Linked DNA regions of Homo sapiens: regions 2, 3, 4, 5, 6 and 7 are each linked to region 1. Evidence: promoter capture Hi-C in 16 types of primary human blood cells and fetal thymus (Javierre and others, 2016). All regions are on one chromosome and are shown on one strand. The core of a region is centred on a gene start or on the middle of the fragment in contact, and the rest is flanking DNA. Distances in the headings are between cores, read along the strand shown.

Region 1 (2,633 bases), core at 47-2,546:
ATACAGAATTCCAAAGAGCCAAGGAGCATCCAAATTGCCGTAGTAAAGGCAAATATTTAGATTCACAAAGTCCAGACTGAATTATCACATATCTAGAAACATACTTTTTAAAGAAATCAGGGATTAAAAACTAAGAAGAGCGTAAAATCCTTTAGAACCGCGAGATACTTTGAGGGTAAACCCTAGCACTTCCTTTCGTACTTTTAAATAAAAATATTTTAGTAGACTCTCAAGAATACACAATACAAAACGATGAATCTTGAAAACATGCAAATGGGTCTAACAGCCACCGAGCACAGGATGATGTCTTTCTAAAGCAGCCTTAATTTCCTTAAGGGAAGATGGATTGGACATTTCTGGTTGGTCGTGGGGGAAAAAAGCCACAAGAAGCCACGCTTTATCTTCATTAGAAATGGTAAAGGGCAAAAAGATCAAAACATTATGAGAGAGATCGGAGAAAAGAGGGGGAGAAGTGGGGTGGGCGGGAAGGGGGAGAGGACAGAGGGAATCCAGTTTCAAACCAGGCCAGTGGGGGCTGCAGAGAAGAGACCAGAGAAAAATGGGCTTCGGTTCCAAACTGTGACAAGCGCCAGGCATCACAAAAGACCAATACAACACACACCCCTCACCAGGACACACACAAATATACCCCACAAGGTCTTCTCCGGGCGGGCCACCGGGGTGCGGCGGCGAAGGAGCCAAACCCGGCACTCGCCAGGAGACACACCATGTGCAGCAATTATGCAATTAGGGAAAATAGCAAAAGATCAAGCCGGGCACTTTCCACCGTGACATTTATCCTGTACTTTTGAAAAGACTTAGTTCCAGGATGCGGCTAGGAGAAGGAAAGCGCTGGGAGGGTTGAGAAGGATGGGGAACTGAGAACGGAAGGGGGTAGAAGGAGGACAGGGAGAGAAGAGGCAGAAGGGGGGGATGGGAAGAAGGGGGAGGGGTAGAAAGGGCGAGAAACGGGGGCAGGAGGCTCGCGGGAGGGGGCGTAGGGAACCGGGCACGGGGAGCGAGGAAGGAGGGAACTAGGGCACGAGCGGTGTAAGCAGAGACCTGCGACGCGGAGGGGAGGTCGGGGGAGTGAGGAGGACGTCAGCGAGAGGGAGGACGCCCGAGGAGGGGAGGCACCGGCGCGGCCCGAGCGAATACCTGAGGGGGGGGTGTCCGTGCAGGTCGCAGGCTCGAGCCGAAGCCCTGGGAGAGAGCTGCCCAGGCGCGAGGGGGAGGGAGACTGGGGAGGCCCCAGGGACGGGATGTCCCCTGCGGACCGTCTAGTCACCGAAAGCCGGACCCACGCACCACGCACCCGACCACGCCTGTCCCCGCCGCGCTCGCGCCCGCCCGGACTCACCCTCAGCGCCGCCGCTGCCGCCGCCCCCGGCCGTTCCAGCTCCGGCTCCTGAGGCTGCTGCCCGCGGCTGTCGCTGTGGCTGCCCCTGAGTCCTGGAAAGTGAAGCCACCACCTCCGGGAGCCGCCGCCGCCCGGCCGTCCGCGCGCGCACCCGCGAGTGCGCGTGCCTGCGCGCCCGCCCGGGAGAGACCGCGAGAGCGCGAGCCCCACGTCGGCCATGCGGCGCCGCGCGCCTCCCTCCTCCCCCCGCCCCTCCTCCTCCGGCGCGCGGCCGCGAGGGGGCGGGGGCGGGAGCGCGCCCGGGCGGGCTGCCCCGCCGGTCGGGAGAGGGGGTGGGGAGGCGGCGAGGAAAAGTAAAGTGACAGCTGGGTCCCGCGCGCAGACTGGGCTCTGACGGGGGTGAGCGAGGGGCGTCCCACGGGGAAGGAACGACAAGGACGGGGAGAAGTGGGGGAAACCGAGGCTGACGGGGTGGCTTGAGGGGAGGGGACGCGAGGACCTTGCCGGGCACGCGCATTAAAGGGAAACGCCGGCTGGGGGTTAGGGGTTACCCCAAGACGGTGCAGGCAGTGGGACGAGGAGGCCTTTTACCCCCATCCACCGCAGCCCTTGACTTCACGCTCGCCTCGAAGCTTTCGCAAAGTAGATACGGGGACTGACCCTGTTGACACACTAACCCAAACTCGCAGACGCGTGGGGCTCGCATGTACCCAAGACAGGAAAACTTCACGTTGGCCTGGAAACTTCTTCCAGGCTAAGCCTGAGTCTTCACCAGACACTGCAGCACGAAGGCCCTTCTGCCTTTTGGCTCGCCCTGGCCCAGAATGCGCACCAGCCGGTAGAGAGGAGCTTCGGGCCGTTTAGCCCTGGGGTATTGAAGAGAGGGGTGGGGGTACAGGGTGCACCACTGTCAGAGTGAGTGGGAAGCTGCCTTCATGCCCAGTTGAAGGATATGGGAACAGTAGCAGTGCTGTAGGTGGCATGAGGGAACATTAGGTTCCGTTGTACTCCTCATCCCAAATAACCGTTTAAAAAAAAAAAAAAAACGTACCTGCTTTGCGAACTTAGCTTCCACGAAATTTCTCCCACTCCAACCTCCAGCCTCACTTACCAACGGAATGCTGGGTCGTTGGCAACGGGGTGTCCAGGGATGCAGCAAAATTAACTTCTATCTTTGTGGAGGAAAGGATTGGAAGATCTTTCACTGCTTAATTGCTGAAATTATGGTTGCTACAGTACTTCATTTGACTGTAGATGTTTTAACTGCTATTTA
Region 2 (2,633 bases), core at 71-2,570, 760 kb before region 1:
AAATTAAAATACTCCTAAATTTATCAAACAATAAAACATCTATGTTCTATATCCAAAGACCTTCTTGCATAATAATGGTTAAAAAAAAAAAAAACCTCTTTCTATAGAAATCAAAGAATTTCTAACTATGGCAAGCGAAAAGTTCGGCCCTTTGAGAAAATCCCAAAGCTAGTAAGGTACTAATTAACCAGAATGCTTAAATTTTCAAAGGGATTTCCAAGAATTAAAGGACCAATTCTGCATGAATCATATTTTACATAAAATCCTAATCCCAATCTCAGATCAATCAAATCACATGCTTGTACCTAGCTGGGTGTGAAATTAGGTCATTCATCAGAAGATGTTTATTAAAATTATTTGACCTAAAATACTGTACAAAATTAAGTCTGTAAATTTCTTAGGTTTCCTGACACCATCCCCCCAAGTTAGCATATCTCCCGAATAAAAGAAAATTTTCAAAGCTTTCCCTGATACAATGTAAGCAAAAAATCGATTTCACTATACCAGATGCATTCTTCCTCCAGTGTTGCACAGGTAACTATTCTTGTTCTCATTCTGAGAAAATCCATCTATCGGAACTCTATCACATACTCTTTGAGTATAAGCATTGGAGAAGTTCATACAATGTCCATTTGCAATACAAATGGCATGACCATTTGGGTAATGCATTATATTCCTCCCTTTGAACTGTCCATTGAGATGCTGCTGGCTCTCACTACAGGGAAAATGGCTGCTAAGCCCATTGCCGCAATGATCATGATTTAAATTATATTGCTCCATGTTCTTGGGAATCCGTTCTCCTCTCTGGGGCTGCATGCTCTCAGCTGAGTTTTCTTGCTGCTCTTGATTATACATAAAGGTATCCTTGTGAGCTCTGGTCACCATGCCAATCACTTCTTCCTTTGCAAAATCAGAAGATGGAGGAGAAGAGCTTTTGATGTTTTCTTGCTCCAGTTGGGGCTTGGGTCGCAGCTGTTCCTGGGCTGGCAAGGCTGTCTGTTCATGATGTTCTACTAATGTGTCATTTTGCAAGTGACCACTGAACTGGCTGTTCATCATGGTCTTCATTGCACTTTGCATTTCAATTAGCATCCTCTGTTTTTCACGCTTAGGAATACGACCAAACCGAACAGCTATTGAAGAAAAAGATATTTAACGTCTATATTCTAAATAAGACCTGTTTTGTATAAAAGAATAACACAAAATTATCCAACAGTTATGGCCTCTAGTCATACATATAAAGAATGAGTCTACATGTCTCTGGTCCACATTTTTCTAAACTTGCTGGTCTTGATGCACCAAAGGAAGTAGGAGAGGGAGAGAAAATTTTCTATTTTCCCCCCACAACAAAGTTAAGGACATCTACCTCCTAGGTATTTTATAAGCAAAGTCTAAGAAAAGAAATAGGAAATTCGGATGGGTGCAGTAGCTCATGCTTCTAATCACAGCACTTTGGGAGGCTGAGGCAGGTGGACCACCTGAGGTCAGGAATTCGAAACCAGACTAGCCAATATGGTGAAACCCCGTCTCTACTAAAAAAACAAAAACTAGCCAGGTGTGATGGCGGGCGCCTGTAGTCCCAGCTATTCTGGAGACTGAGGCAGGAGAATCGCTTGAACCCAGGAGGCAGAGGTTGCAGTGCGTCGAGATGGTGCCAATGCACTCCAGCCTAGGTGACAGAGCAATACTCCATCTTAAAAAAAAAAAAAAAAAAAAAAAAGAAAGAAAAAGAAAAAAGAAATATGAAATTAGCTAATGAAAACCAGTTTGAAGCAGACCAGTATTACTACACAGCTCCTTACTAACAAAGCTGAGGACTGTTCCCAGCAAGGCATGTGTGATTCAGCTACACACATCCATTACCATTAATGGAATCTGGTAGGTGAAATCATTCCCTGAACACCTGGCCCTTGTCAATTCATTTTTGTAACTTTGCTCTCAAGATCTAACTATGAAATTATCTGCTGTCTTCTTTTCCAGCCTCTTTAAAAAAAAAATCCTTAAAAAAAATTCCACAATCAGTAGAAATGCACTTACTGAAAAATAAACTTGGTAGATTTTAATTAAAACCAGTGAAATAAGTAAAAATGAGATAAGTCATCCTCTATTCTTTTAGAAGCTAGTCTTAGAAGGTGTCTTGTCTCCAATAATCCTATCCATGAGAGAAAGAAAAGCTTCTTTCACAGTCTAGTATTTACACAGAGATAATAAAAATTCAGTATACTTGCCCAGAAAGCCTCGTTAATCTAATTGTAGCCTCTAACATTATTGCTACCAAAAACAAACAACTTAATCATGTTTGATACTTTATCTCTACTCCTCCCTTCACAAATGATTGTCAGTTTTATTCTTTCAGGGCAATCACAATATCCATCAACTATTTTTATAGCATTAGTACTTTTAGCACTATAAAAAAAATTTCAGGGAATTGAAAAAACAAAACATCAATTGCTGAAATCTGTTACTCAAAAAACTCCTGGCCACGCCTGATGGCTCACACCTGTAATCCCAGCGCTTTGGGAGGCCGAGGCAGGTGGATCACTTGAGGTCAGGAGTTCGAGACCAGCCTGGTCAACATGGTGAAACCCCCATCTCTACTAAAAATACAAAAATTAGCCAGGTGTGGTGGCGGG
Region 3 (2,633 bases), core at 67-2,566, 740 kb before region 1:
CGTTTACTGGAAAACTCCAGCCCGAAGGGATCTGGAAGCAGTTTTTAAGACTGTGTGTGTATGAGACAGGTCGCGTCCTAGAGCAAACGGTTTTTTTTGTAAACAGACGGCATCCTAACAGGGGCGGTGCTACCCAGTCTGCGGGGAGTCGCTCGGGATCGAAGCACCTCAGAGCTCCTTCGAGCGTATCCCTTCGGGAAAGCCCCACGCCTTCCCCGAGGCGCCTCCTCCGGCCTGCAGCACGCCCTCGTCCTGCACTTCCTCCTCGGAATCTGCAAGGTATGCAGCTACCAGCCTCCCCAGGCGCCGGTTCGTTTGGTTTGCGCGGGGTCCGCGCCTTGGGGTCACCTCGCGAAAAGAGCGTGCGGCGTCCGGTGCACTGCGGTGTCAGCGCCCGCTTCGGGGACGCCCCGCCGCGGGGGCTCAGCGGGCGCGCACGCGCGGCCTCCTCCGCAGTGTGCAACCCCGCGGGGGAGGAGGGAATCGCGGCGACGTCACTGCCCCGAGGCTTCCAAAGGGGCGGAGCCTCCCGGGAGGCTGCGGCGCTCCCAGCCAGCGCGCGCGCGCGCGCCCCCGCCCCCACGTGTCCCTGCGGCCCCGGGGAATGTGGGTCAGGGAGCCGAGCGGCCTCACGTGTCCCCGCCCGCCGCCGCCGCCTCAGCGCCCATTATGTAATGCCGCGTCACGCGCCCGCCCAGCCAACCGGCGCCCGCGCGCCGCCGAACGTAAACACAGCGCGCACGTGGCTCGCGCGGCCGGGCCATGTGAGGGGGGGGCCGGGCCGGGCGCCGGCAGGCCGCGCTGCGGCTTTGCAGGGAGACAAGAGGGCGGGCGCCGGGCGGCCCGGGGGGCGATGGGAACCGAGCCAGAGGCGGACACGCGGCGCGCAGCAGCCCACCCCGCCCCACCGGCCATGGGGACACCCCCTGCCGCCGCCCCCCAAAGTGCCCCGCGGGCTCTGAGCGCTCCCTCCGGCCATCCCCCACCCGCCGCAGTCCGGTTCTTACCTGCATTCACCTCCATGGTGCCCTCGCGGAGGCGGCCGGGGCCGCCCGCTTCCCGCAGAGGGGGCAGCGCCGCCGCCGCCGCCTCAGCGCCGCGCCGCCCCGGGCTGGAAGCAGCGGTGGTCGCGGGGCCCCCTCATGGGCAGAGCGGGCGGGGCTCCCGGGCCCCAGGCCGTGCAGCGCACAGCAGGCTGCAGCGAGAGAGGGTGGCGGCGGCCGGCGAGCGGCGCTCCTCGCTGGGTCCCTGACAACAAAAGCGGCGGCGCGGCGGCTTCCTGCAGCCAGCGCACCGCGGCGGCGAGGGCGGCTGACGGGGAGGGCAGCCGCGACCATGTGACCCGCGCACACACCCCCTCCCTCCGCCCGCCCTCGGCCGGCCGCTGCGGCGACCTCCGCCCCGCCGCTCCCCTCCCTCCCGCCCGCTTCCCGGCTCCCCGGCTACCCTTTTCTCCTGCGCTTCCCCCTTCTCCCCTTCCTTCTCCTTGCCGAGCCCCTCCTCTTCCTTCGTTTTTCCCCTCCGTGCCGTAAACCTCTTCTCCGTTTCCCTCCGCCGCATATTCCTCCCCTCCTCCTCCTCTTTCCTCTCCTCCCGGCTGCCTTTCCCGCCTCTGGCCGGGAGTCCTCTCCACGCCCTGCCCCCCAACCTGGTGGCTCTTAGGTCAAAGCGGTGGCTTGGCGCCGAGCAAGGGTGATTCTCAGGACCCCGGCTGGGCCGGCTGGTTCGGGCTTGCTCAACCCTTGCGCCCCCCACCCCCACCCCCCGCTCCCACCCGACCGACCTCCAAACGCTGGTCTCTGAGGGCACAGACCCTTCCCTTTCCCTCTGCACCCTCTAGGTGATTTTATCCAATCTCATAGCTTAAGTAGACCTATGTTCTTGTGATTCCCAGATTTATATTTCAAGCCAAGACCTCTCTTCTAATCTCCAGATTCCTACATCCAGCAGCCCGTTTGATTATGCCGCTTTTTTGCATCTCAGATTTTAGACGGGTGTACGCGTGTGTCCGAACTCAGCTAATGTGCAGTCAAGATCTGGGCGTTTCACCTTGAATGTAAATTTTAGATCAAAAGAAAAAAGCTAGACATAAATTGTATGCGTGCTGAGGTGAATTCTGAGGAAAGTGCATTGATGCCCGCAATTTAAACGCATTACTGAAGTAAGATGGGCTGATAGAGGCATGAATAGATGATATGGTAAGATGTTAAACTTAGGCGATGGGGATATGGGTGTTGCTTGTAAAACTCTTTCCAGTTTGCTCTGAAATTCTTCACTATAGAAGGTGGGGAAAATGTCACGTGGAAGACATATTTACATGTGCAACACCCTATTTCCCCACCCCCCAGGTTTCTTCACCATATCAATATTTACTGTTTTGGTAAATCTGCAAGTTCCTGAAGCCAGCAAAATTATGTTTCTCTCCTAACACTCTCACAGCCTTTTATTCTCCATTCAATCCATTAGCAAGTCTGAGCTATTCTACCTTCAAAATATGTTCAATCCCTGTTTCTCACCGTTGGTATTGCTAGAGCAAACCATTATCTCTTGCCTCAGCTACTGCTCTGGTTCCCTAACTAGGAGAGTGCTTCTTGGGTCCTCCTACAGTCACTTCTCCCCAGCAGTCAAAGTAT
Region 4 (2,633 bases), core at 74-2,573, 660 kb before region 1:
AAAAAAAACAACACTGTGTTTACTTCCCAATTTCTATTCTGAAGGACAAAATAAAGGTAGAAGAGATGGAATCTAATCTACCTATTAATGTAGAAAGTAAAGTAATAAGAGAAAGTAAAAGTGGCCAGGCATGGTGACTCATGGCTATAATCCCAGCACTTTGGGAGGCTGAGGCAGGCGGATCACAAGGTCAGGAGATCGAGACCAGCCTGGCCAATATGGTGAAACCCCATCTCTAATAAAAATTCAAAAATTAGCCGGGTGTGTTAGTGGGCGCCTGTAGTCCCAGCTACTCAGGAGGCTGAGGCAGGAGAATAGCTTGAACCCAGGAGGTGGGGGTTGCAGTGAGTGAGATCGTGTCACTGCACTCCAGCCTAAGCAACAGAGGGAGACTCCATCTAAAAATAAATAAATAAATAAAAATAAAAAATAAAAGTAACTATGGTCACCCTAGGGTAAGCAGCGTTTCTGAGTAGAAAGCCAATGCTTTAAGGACTTGGAAAGGTGGGGGGGATACTAAGTCTGGGCTATCAATAATTCTTACTCCAGGCATTCGAATGTATGTTTCATTTAAGCCCAGTTTTCACAGTTATTTTTACAACAAAGTTGCTTAGGAACTGAGGGGAGATCTTTTGACTTATTTTCCTGCTTCATTCCAAACATGTTTTCAATAGTGACCCACTGATATGCTACATCTTTGGGTAAAAAATATCTAGAACACTCATTCATAGGAAATATTTATGACTGCTGCCATTCCCATCTATAGCCCAATGAAAATCATCAGTGACTACAAGGGGTTTGGGTCTCCTGTGGCTCTGTGGTCACATTGAAGGACAGATTTTGGCCTTATGATAAAAGCTTCCACTGACATTTTATTGGAAAATTTGGAAATACTCAGACTAAATGGATACTATCTCACTGTTCTGCCTTCTCTGCTCCCTCCTCTCTATTCAATTCAGGTGCTCTTTCCTACCCTCTTCCTTCTCCTTTGCTCTCAGACATGGGACTGACATACTGAATCTCTAAGAGACTACAAAACCTGCACCAGTATAAATGAAAGGGCTCAAGTGTACTCCAACAGCAGGATGCAAATCTGATTTTGAAATGAGACAGGGGGACCGGAGAGCCCACACAGGAGAAACTTTTGCCAAAAGAGGGTGCTCTTTCTCCCTTCTTTAATGTAGAAATACCAACTGTTATCTAAGATAATTATTTGTCAATTTATCTAAACAGTCAAAACACATGGAAGATTTGAAATGGGTGAATTTAATTGTGTATAAATTACACCTCAACAAAGTTGATGATAATTTATCCAAATATAAGCAAAACCAAAGTTTGAACTCAATTCTCCAGAATTTATTACATACAGGTTTGTTCTGACCTACTATTTGTACATCTAAAGTATCACTCCAAGAACCAACATAAATCAAAGACAGAAAAGTACCCTAACACAATTGCAGAGAAATATATAATTTTCAAAGTTCCTTCACAAACTTTGACTTCTTTTGATCTTTGCCTAGAATCTTTGAATCAGGAAAGGTAACATTTATCCATTTTAAAGATGAGGAAAATAAAATACATAAAATATAAAAAAGACAAGAAGAAAGTAATACAAAATAAAGAAATACATTTAAAAACAAACAAAGAGAAAAAAAAAAAAGATGAGGAGAAGGATTCAGGATTAAGTGATTTGTTTGTACAAAGTCAGAAAGCCTGGAAGTCAGTTCTGGCTAATGGCAATCCAGGTTTTCTTAAGGTGATATATTTTTACTACACCCATGAAGCTTAAAATAAAGTTACCTGTCTTTGGACTCAACACAAAAGTTGTTTAATCACAATTACTGGTCTGCCTTTCCTACCTTATTATTTCATTTCTCTTTCACATTTGGATGGAAGCCAGGATTAAATAAGAACAAGAAAATCTTGTGATCTGCCAAAAGGTGTTATTTAAATTTCTTAATACCAAAAATTAAATCACTTTATTTGCAGAAATCAATTAGGTGAAAATAAAAGCATACCACACACAGTACTTAGTGTGGAGAGGAATTTCGATAATAATGTGACAACTCCAAAAATGCAGAGAATCCCCCACCTTAATGAAAACCAAAGACATTTTGGGGAAACAAGCATCAGTTCAATTACAGTCCAAACGTTATGCCCCTAAGCTGCAAAGAGAACAAGAAAGATGCACAATTCTTTTTTCCCCCTAGAGCTAAAAAAAAGCAGGTATAGAACATGAGACCTACTTTCTCCAGCTCAGAAGTTAGGTTGGTCCCACAGTCCAGGAATTCAGATCCACTTCACTCTATTCCATTCTAGTTCACAGTGGCACTGGGAGGTCCAGCAGTCATTAGAATGACCTGCACTGAAATGTGAGGTCAACCCCTGCCTGAGGATACAATATCACCCACTGCTCAATGCTCTGTGAAGCTGAGGCCTCTGCAACTTCTTTGTTCCCTCCCTCTCCACTGCAGGATCCACAACTCAGAACTACCAGGAAATAACAGGGTCAGGAGGTGAGGAGAGCTATTTACTGCACTTGGGGGAATCACTGGCTTCTTTCTTGGCCCCGGCTGGCCTGGAGAGACAAGAGGAAGGCTGTTTATATTTGCATAGGGCTGAGAGACTGAATG
Region 5 (2,633 bases), core at 82-2,581, 640 kb before region 1:
GCCACCATACCCGGATAAATTTTGTATTTTTAGTAAAGATGGGGTTTCACCATGTTGGCCAGCTGGTTTCAAACTCCTGACCTCAGGTGATCTGCCCACCTCGGCCTCCCAAAGTGCTGGGATTACAGGTGCAAGCCACTGCACCTGGCCCCATTCTCTTTTTTAAGAGACTGTGGCCTTGCCATGTTGCCCAGGCTGAACTCAAACTCCTAGCCTCAAGCAATCCTCCTACCTCAAGCCTCCCAAGTAGCTAGGACTACAGGAATGGGCCACTGCACCCAGCTCTATTACCCACTCTTGAATAGGCTTAAAAGGAATTTAAAAAACCAAATGTTTCAACATTACATTTACCTTAAACTAGATTTATGTAAGACATTTATTTAATTATCCCTTCCTGACCATTAAGAACTACTTTCTCTTACAGGTACTGAAAATTCATGTTACTGATGTAAGAACTTTTCCCAAATAATACAGAGAATGACAGTTAACTATCAGATAAGCTAGGGCACTGGTTTGAAAACCTTAGTTGCCTAAGGAGCAAGAGTTGGCAAACTATGACTCACATGGGCCAAATCAGGCCCTCAACCTGTTTCTGTTTGGTCTACTAGTTAAGAAAGGTTTTCACATTTTTAAGTGATTAAAAAAATCTAAAGAAAACTAGTATTTTATGACACGTGAAAACTATTAATAAATTTTATATTGAATTATTAAATTGAAATCGGTGTCCGTAATAAAGCTGTATTGGAACACAACCACATTTTTTCATTTATGAATTGTATATGGCTGCTTTTGTACTATGGGTAGAGTTGAACGGTTCTAACAGAGATCAAATGGCCTATGACGCCTAGAATATTTACTACTTGGACTTCTGCTAAATAACTTTGCCAAACTCCACCCTAGAGAGGTTTTGTTTAAAAAGAAAAATTATATATATACATACACACACATACACACACACACACACACACACACACAGAGAGAGAGAGAGAGAGAGAGAGAGAGAAACCAAAACAGTGGGGAGATGGACAAAAGAGGAATTTCCATTTTTAACAACTGCCTCAAGTAATTCTGATACAGACAATATATTCAGAAAACACTGATCTACACTCTACTCCTACATATGCTTAGAAAAAGGGAATTGTCATGTGGCTTACAATTTCATTGCTAAATAAAATGGGGGCAACTTGGTAAACAGAGGCTTTCTTCCTTCTATCAAGAGAGTATATATGTGCATAGCCAATTCAGCCTCCCCACTCCTGAAGAGTGTGCAATGCATTCTGCCAGACACACAGATCTTGAGGTAAAAAGAAGAAAATATCCTGTCCATTAAGAAGAAAATTTTAATTTCACATAAAATTTGCTTTAGTTTATTGTCAAGATTTGTGATTTTGAAGCTACACTTAGGAAATCCTTCCTGGCCTGTGGGTCGCATTTTCTTTCTTCATTGTATAGTTTTAAAATTTCACATGTGAGCTTTTAATCTACCTAGTCTACCTTCATATATGGTATTAAGTAGGAATCCGGTTTTATTTACCTCCTTGTGGTGAGTCAATTTCCCTATACCATCTATGAACAATCCCATCTTGTCCTCAGTGTTTGGTGCTGCCATAAATTATATATTATATATTAAAATCCTACATATACACATGTCCATCTCTGGGTGCTCCAAGTCAGCTTCATTGGTCTGTTTACCTTACCACAGGGCTACGGTAATAAATACAGTGTAGTATTATTGGAGCACGTCTTCATATCTGGGAGAGCAACAACCCATCTCCCACGCATAACACCTAAGACTGACCTACATGTTCATGAACATATTCTCCATATGTAAGTGTAGAGTATGATTGGCAAAAATTAGAAAATCAGAACGCACCTAAGAGGACACAGGAATTCTCATGCTCTGCTACTGGTGGGCATGGAGATGAGTACAGCCATTCTGGGGAACAATCTGGTACAACTTAAGTCAAATCAAATTTAAGTAAGCCCTATGATCCCCTTGCAGTTCTGCTTAATTCTTACAGAGGTCCAAAAAAGATTACGGACCAGAATGTTCACTGTTAGTGGGGATGGAGAGCTGGAAACGATCTGGTCTTCTATAAGATAAAATGAGTATACCCCTTGGAATACTATGTGGCTGTTCAACGCAATGAATTAGATGCTTGCATAGCAACAGGGAGAGAGCTTAAAACATTGTGCTTAGAAAAATGTAAGAAAGAATTAGGCATCATTTATGTAAGTTAAAAATACAAACACTAAATACATTTTACAAGAACACAAACAATATAGTGAAAGGCATTAGAATGGGTGCTTTTGGGGCAGAAGTAGAAAATGAGGATAAAATAGAATAAAATAAACAAGCAGGAAAGAGGAGAAAAAGGAATCAACCTTTACTGGGGGAAGGGGAGGGCTCACAAACACTAGGCTAGCTAGCTGTAGCCTGCGCCTTAGAGACTACTCACAAACCCCACCCACATGGCTCTCCCACAAATTATTTTTACATACTCCCATTTTACATATGAGTTGCCTTCATTAAAGGAGCCCTAAGAGCATAAAAAATTACACATGGTGGAAGAAATATCAAGAAGATATCGTTAAGTCAGTACAACTGCAGGATAAAGATGGCAATATCTGTA
Region 6 (2,633 bases), core at 49-2,548, 620 kb before region 1:
CTTTTCGGGGGCTACCAGTCTCCCTGAAGGATGAAGTTAGGCATTCTGAAGACTTCCAGAGAGAGGGTTACTCAGAAAAAGGCCAAAGCAGTGTGATATACTAGCAAGTAGTATATGACGCTGCTAACTTTACTGCCAGTCTCTGCACACACATTACTATAATCACTTAACATACGTTGGTTCTGAAATATTTACTTAGGTTAGAGGAAAGTTATCTTTCATGTTTATAAAAAATCCTCCTGGGTGCTTGTAATAAAACAAATGTTTTCTTTTAGGGTCTTTTTCTCTGCAAAGTCAACAATCTCCTTTTATTTAGGATAAATGTGTTGTAGCAAAGTCTGCTAAGAAATAAATTTTTATAACACCAATTCTAATATATTAACTTAAAAATTGAGATGTACCCCCATAGAGGAGGAAAGGTTGTAAGTGGTAGTAGGAACAATTTAAATTACTTGTGGAGCAAAATTCCTACGTAGCCAAAACAGTTGTGGTTCCACATATTATTTGTTGCTTGTCTCTGGCAGTTCAGCACCTAATGCTTTTGTGATTCCAACTAATTACTCTCTGAATTAGAAGAATGATTCCTAATCCTAAAACTTTCTTAATTCTACCCTCAATTATCAAGGTAAGCAGGACCAAGAGTATCTGGCATAATCTGAAACAAATTATTAAGACATGATCAGTGGACAATTAAAAAGACAATGCTTATATGATTGCTTTAAGAGTTCTAAGTATATCCAATGTAAAGCATTAACATAACAGCCCATATTAAAAGGATGAAAAACAGGATGGGCGCAGAGGCTCATGCCTGTAATCCCAGCACTTTGGGAGGCCAAGGCAGGTGGATCACAAGGTCAGGAGTTTTCGACTAGCCTGGCCAACATGGTGAAACCCCATCTCCACTAAAAATACAAAAATTAGCTGGGCGTGGTGGCACATGCCTGTAACCCCAGCTACTCAGGAGACTGAGACAGGAGAATCGCTAGAACCCGGGAGGCACAGGTAACAGTGAGCCAAGAAGGCACCACTGCACTCCAGCCTGGGCGACAGAGCAAGGCTCCGTCTCTGGAAGGGCGGTGGCGGGGGTTGGGGGTGGGGGGATGGGGGAGGGGATGAAAAACATTAAATATGATGAGTAACTTATGCTGTGTTAAAAGTAAATACATATATCCAACTCATTCTAGTGCATTCTCCAGCTTGAACAGAATACAAAAGGTCGATGCAAATCAAAGCATGTAAAATATTTTTAAGGATGGCAGCAGCAATTTACTGATTTTCCAATTTATCCAGTAATTTCAAACCAAGTCTTGAAAAAGAGATTCATCAAGATGTAATACATGAACCTGACACTATTTACTTGTAACATGCATGGTACAACGTTAACCTAAAGATCACAAAGGACTTGAATCTCGTAAAGTAGAAGTTAACTTTTTTTGGTGAGGAAAGAGGGGAGATCAGAAAAAAAAAACTCCTTTGAGAATCCACTGAAAATGGTGGGCCCTTTCCCCATCCTCCCCACAAAATTATATATACTATGTTAAGAAATTCTGCCCTAAAGTGTAGAAAGTAGATAACACCAGATCACTTTTCTGGATAAATACAATGAAATATTTTAACTAGGAAGAGTAATACAAACACATTTTCATTCTTGAAAATCATTCCTCCTTTTCCATTGTCTCTCCTCTAAACCAGGTTTGACACGTGAAGGTCACCAACAAACCTGAGGTAAAATCTAGTGGTTACTTGCTGGTCTTCATCTTTTTCTACTGCACAGCACCATTTCCCACTTGATCACTCTACCTCAAAACTTTCCACTCACTGCTTTCTAATACCACACTCTCTTGATTTTCCTTCTGTCTCCTTTGCTGGCTTTTCCTAGTGTACACTTCTAAATGCCAGATGCCTGAGTCTTCATCCTGGGCACTCTTCTCATGATGCCTTTCCTTTCTAGGAGAGAGAAAGGCATTCCCAAGACACCCAAGAGCCTCTGTTTGGTAAGGTCTCCTTTACAAATGTGTATGTATCTCAGAGCTCCAATTACCTATGTCTAACTTATTTTTGACACCTTCATTTGGATGCCTCATGGGAACAGATTTCAAATCTATCAAGTCCAAAAAGGAGTCATTTCCACCCTGCCCTCATCTCCCCTGCCACCCACCACACACGCGCCCTACGGCCCTATTCTAGGCCTAGGAGTCTACCTATCAGTAAAACATCACTATCATCTAGCCAATTGCAAAAAAACACAGAAACTTGGAGTCATTTTTGTTCCTGTCCCTCATCTCTCACATGCAATCCAACAACAGGTCCCAGTGTTCTACCATATCTCCACTGCCACTACCTTAATCCTAGCCACCTGCACCAGCTAGCTTGAAACAGAGCAATACCCTCCTTTCTGGTCTCCCTTCTTCCACTAGCATCTTCCTCCCAGCTATTTTCCATGCAGCAGGGAGGGTGGGAAAAGACTTTTAAAGCATTATTGAGAAAAATCCAAACTCTCTACTTAGCACGGTTTACATAATCAGCATCACCTGACTTGTCCCCGCCTCAGGGCCTGTTTTTACCTTCCCTCTGTCCCAGATGTCTTCTGGTACTTTTCACAAGGCCATTTCCTTTCCTATCTTTTAGGTCTT
Region 7 (2,633 bases), core at 40-2,539, 540 kb before region 1:
CAGTGTCTATAATGAAAAAGACAAGGTTGGCCAGGTGTGGTGATGCATGCCTGCAGTCCCAGCAACTCGGGAGGCTGAAGTGAGAGGTTCACTTGAGCTCAGGAGTTCAAGGCTGCAGTGAGCCATGATTGCATCACTGCAATCCAGCCTAGGTGACAGAGCAAGACCCCGTCTCAAAAGACAAGGTCAAGCTTTCAAATGGACATAATATAAGAATTCTCATTGTTATATATAAAGCATTACATATGGGGCCATGTGCGGTGGCTCAAGCCTGTCATCCCAGCACCTTGGGGGGCTGAGGCGGGCGGATCACTTGAGGTCAGGAGTTCGAGACCAGCCTGGCCAACATGGTGAAACCCCGTCTCCACTAAAAAATACAAAAATTAGCCAGGCGTGGTGGCGAGCGCCTGTAATCGCAGCTAGTTGGAAGGCTGAGGCAGGAGAATCGCTTGAACCTGGGAGGTGGAGGTTGCAGTGAGCCAAGATTGAGCCTTTGCACTCCAGGCTGGGTGACAGAGTGAGACCCCCTCTCAAAAAAAAAGAGCCAAAAAATTACATATATAAAACATATATATATATACACATGTATATATACAACAAATATATAAATACATAAAATAGCTATAAACAAAGAGAATTAGCCCAGCTTTGAGAAATCTTTTCCTCCTGGAATTTAGTTAGAGGCCACAGCTCAATTATTTGATGGCAGCCTTGGAAAAACTGGCAGTTTATATCTACTTTCAGGCCCCTGACATTGCAATGTAAAACCGATGGTGTGACGGTCACTTTATAAATGCTCAACAATGCTGCTGGGAGGGAGGGAAGGAAGGAAGAAAGGCAGGAAGGAAGGGGAGGGGGAGAAGGGAGGGCCGGAGATGGGGGAAGCAGGGTAATGTTTTCTGGAGGAATCTAACTAATTTGCATTTCTAATGGCTAATGAAACCTGGAGAAGTAAAACCTAAACAGATTTGGTTAAAAGTCTAGGCAACTTTGAGTCACCAAGGGCTGGATTCCCAGCCCCTGTGTGCTCTTGTCCCTCTCCTCCTTCCCTAATTTCTTCCTTCCTGTGGGGCACATCATTGCTCATTAGCACCTTCACCAGACGGTAGACTGTGAGAAGCGAAGCTCAGTGATTTATTTCTTGGTGTTTCGCAGCTCTCGAATCTCCCAGTGAGGGAGAAGGCTGAAATTAATGGCTAGAATTAGTTATTTGGATTATCACAGGTTTCCACATAGACTTTTTATTATCATTATTATTATTATTAGCTGGGTGGGCTATTGAGCGTTGGAGTCTTATGAATAAAGTTCCCCTATTTTAAATGACTTGAGGGAAGCGAGGCTTGGTTAAGATAAGAAAAGGCTGGTGCTGGGCAGGTGGCTCACGCCTGTAATGCCAACACTTTGGGAGCCCGAGGCAGGAGGAGGATCTTTTGAGTTCAGGAATTTGAGACCAGCCTGGGCAACAAGGTGGGACTCTGTCTGTCCAAAAAAAATTTTTTTTTAAATAGCCGGCATGGTGGCGCGCACCTGTGATCCCAGCTACTCAGGAAGCTGGGGTGGGAGGATCACGTGAGCCCTGGTCGAGGCTGCAGTGAGCTGTGATCATGCCACTGCACTCCAGTTTGGGGGACAGAGTAAGATCCTGTCTCAAAAAAAAAAAAAAAAAAAAAGAAAATGGGAAAAGGCTAGTGTCAGAGTGGAAATGAACAAGAATCAATGCTGGGAACTTCCAATTTCCAATCACCTCCACTACCGGAAGATGGGTCAATTTGACAACAATTTATGTCAGAGTTGCACCAGATCCATACCACATTTTTTTTCATGTCTTGACCTGAGTCTTTGAACAACCGAGGGGTATCATGGACAGAGGTGGGAGGCTAGCAGCTGTATAGCCAATGGAGAATGACCTAGGCAAAATCTGAAAGTTAAGACCTTTGGGTTTTAAAGCATTCTTTCCTCTTCAAAGAAAAGCAGTCTACCCAAACATATCAGTTGAGTACTGGATTTTAGTTAAACTATATTATTAACTGTGGGATTCAGTTTCCTCTTTTTTTTTTTTTTTTTGGAGATGGAGTCTCATTCTGCTGCCCAGGCTGGAGTGCAGTGGTGCGATCTCAGCTCACTGTAACCTCTGCCTCCCGGGTTCAATCAATTCTCCTGCCTCAGCCTCTCCAGTAGCTGGGACTACAGGCACACGCCGCCATGTCCAGCTAATTATTTTTTTTTTAAATTTTAGTAGAGATGGGGTTTCACCCTGTTGCCCAGGCTGGTCTCGAACTCCTGAGCTCAGGCAATCCACCTGCCTCGGCCTCCCAAAGTGCTAGGATTACAGGCGTGAGCCACCGGGCCCCGCTCAGTTTCCCATTCTTGTAAAAAGATAAGCTTACTCTGTGTAACTCTGATACTTTGTTAAGGTATGGGTGTGGGTGCATGATTTTTATTACTTTTGTAGAATAAAGAGGAATAATGTGGTTAAAGATGGGGCAAACTAAACCTTTCTTCTCTCATCCCCCCAATTTGTTGCCACTAGAAACTTGAAGAAAATAAAGGATTAGGAACCTGAGTTAAAGGGGAAGAGGCAGAAGATTTTCCCATTCATTTTCTCTCGGCTTCCTGTATACACTTGCATCCAA

What was found. The method cuts DNA at HindIII sites, captures the fragments that hold promoters and counts their contacts. A CHiCAGO score of 5 or more calls a contact.
Region 2: a fragment that was not itself captured here is called in contact with the fragment with the promoter of UBE2E2 in region 1 in 3 of 17 cell types (fetal thymus, total B cells and activated CD4 T cells); the score reaches 7.3 in fetal thymus.
Region 3: a contact is called between the fragment with the promoter of NR1D2 here and the fragment with the promoter of UBE2E2 in region 1, in 11 of 17 cell types (fetal thymus, naive CD4 T cells, activated CD4 T cells and 8 more). The highest score is 16.1, in fetal thymus.
Region 4: a contact is called between a fragment that was not itself captured here and the fragment with the promoter of UBE2E2 in region 1, in 7 of 17 cell types (fetal thymus, total B cells, naive B cells and 4 more). The highest score is 15.9, in fetal thymus.
Region 5: a contact is called between a fragment that was not itself captured here and the fragment with the promoter of UBE2E2 in region 1, in 7 of 17 cell types (fetal thymus, monocytes, total B cells and 4 more). The highest score is 9.6, in fetal thymus.
Region 6: a fragment that was not itself captured here is called in contact with the fragment with the promoter of UBE2E2 in region 1 in 8 of 17 cell types (fetal thymus, naive B cells, total B cells and 5 more); the score reaches 14.2 in fetal thymus.
Region 7: a contact is called between a fragment that was not itself captured here and the fragment with the promoter of UBE2E2 in region 1, in 1 of 17 cell types (M0 macrophages). The highest score is 5.1, in M0 macrophages.

Annotation. Positions count from the first base shown.
Region 1 is chr3:23,201,990-23,204,622 of GRCh38, reverse strand. UBE2E2 (ubiquitin conjugating enzyme E2 E2) reads right to left here and starts at 1,296. Exons shown (of 6, transcript NM_152653.4): 1 at 1,159-1,296. UBE2E2-DT (UBE2E2 divergent transcript) reads left to right here and starts at 1,630. Exons shown (of 2, transcript NR_136176.1): 1 at 1,630-1,759. RefSeq lists a silencer at 1,136-1,825 and enhancers at 2,176-2,235, 1,648-2,623. The HindIII fragment of the contact is 2,247 bases long and covers 1-1,994 here.
Region 2 is chr3:23,960,477-23,963,109 of GRCh38, reverse strand. It overlaps NR1D2 (nuclear receptor subfamily 1 group D member 2), which reads right to left. Exons shown (of 8, transcript NM_005126.5): 5 at 505-1,133. Among named protein-coding and RNA genes, the nearest start is that of NR1D2, 17 kb to the right of the region's middle. The HindIII fragment of the contact is 1,713 bases long and covers 464-2,176 here.
Region 3 is chr3:23,943,969-23,946,601 of GRCh38, reverse strand. It overlaps NR1D2 (nuclear receptor subfamily 1 group D member 2), which reads right to left and starts at 1,316. Exons shown (of 8, transcript NM_005126.5): 1 at 1,008-1,316. The coding sequence starts at 1,023. LOC124909354 (a long non-coding RNA gene) reads left to right here and starts at 1,422. Exons shown (of 2, transcript XR_007095845.1): 1 at 1,422-2,633. It also overlaps a transcript of NKIRAS1 not described here. RefSeq lists silencers at 225-766, 263-1,452. The HindIII fragment of the contact is 14,696 bases long and covers 1-2,633 here.
Region 4 is chr3:23,866,096-23,868,728 of GRCh38, reverse strand. All of the region lies in intron 3 of UBE2E1 (ubiquitin conjugating enzyme E2 E1), which reads right to left. Among named protein-coding and RNA genes, the nearest start is that of NKIRAS1, 50 kb to the left of the region's middle. The HindIII fragment of the contact is 926 bases long and covers 861-1,786 here.
Region 5 is chr3:23,843,932-23,846,564 of GRCh38, reverse strand. The region is part of intron 3 of UBE2E1 (ubiquitin conjugating enzyme E2 E1); the gene reads right to left. Among named protein-coding and RNA genes, the nearest start is that of UBE2E1-AS1, 38 kb to the right of the region's middle. The HindIII fragment of the contact is 4,321 bases long and covers 1-2,633 here.
Region 6 is chr3:23,821,298-23,823,930 of GRCh38, reverse strand. All of the region lies in intron 3 of UBE2E1 (ubiquitin conjugating enzyme E2 E1), which reads right to left. Among named protein-coding and RNA genes, the nearest start is that of UBE2E1-AS1, 16 kb to the right of the region's middle. The HindIII fragment of the contact is 9,608 bases long and covers 1-2,633 here.
Region 7 is chr3:23,744,970-23,747,602 of GRCh38, reverse strand. No RefSeq gene overlaps it. Among named protein-coding and RNA genes, the nearest start is that of UBE2E1, 60 kb to the left of the region's middle. The HindIII fragment of the contact is 2,191 bases long and covers 194-2,384 here.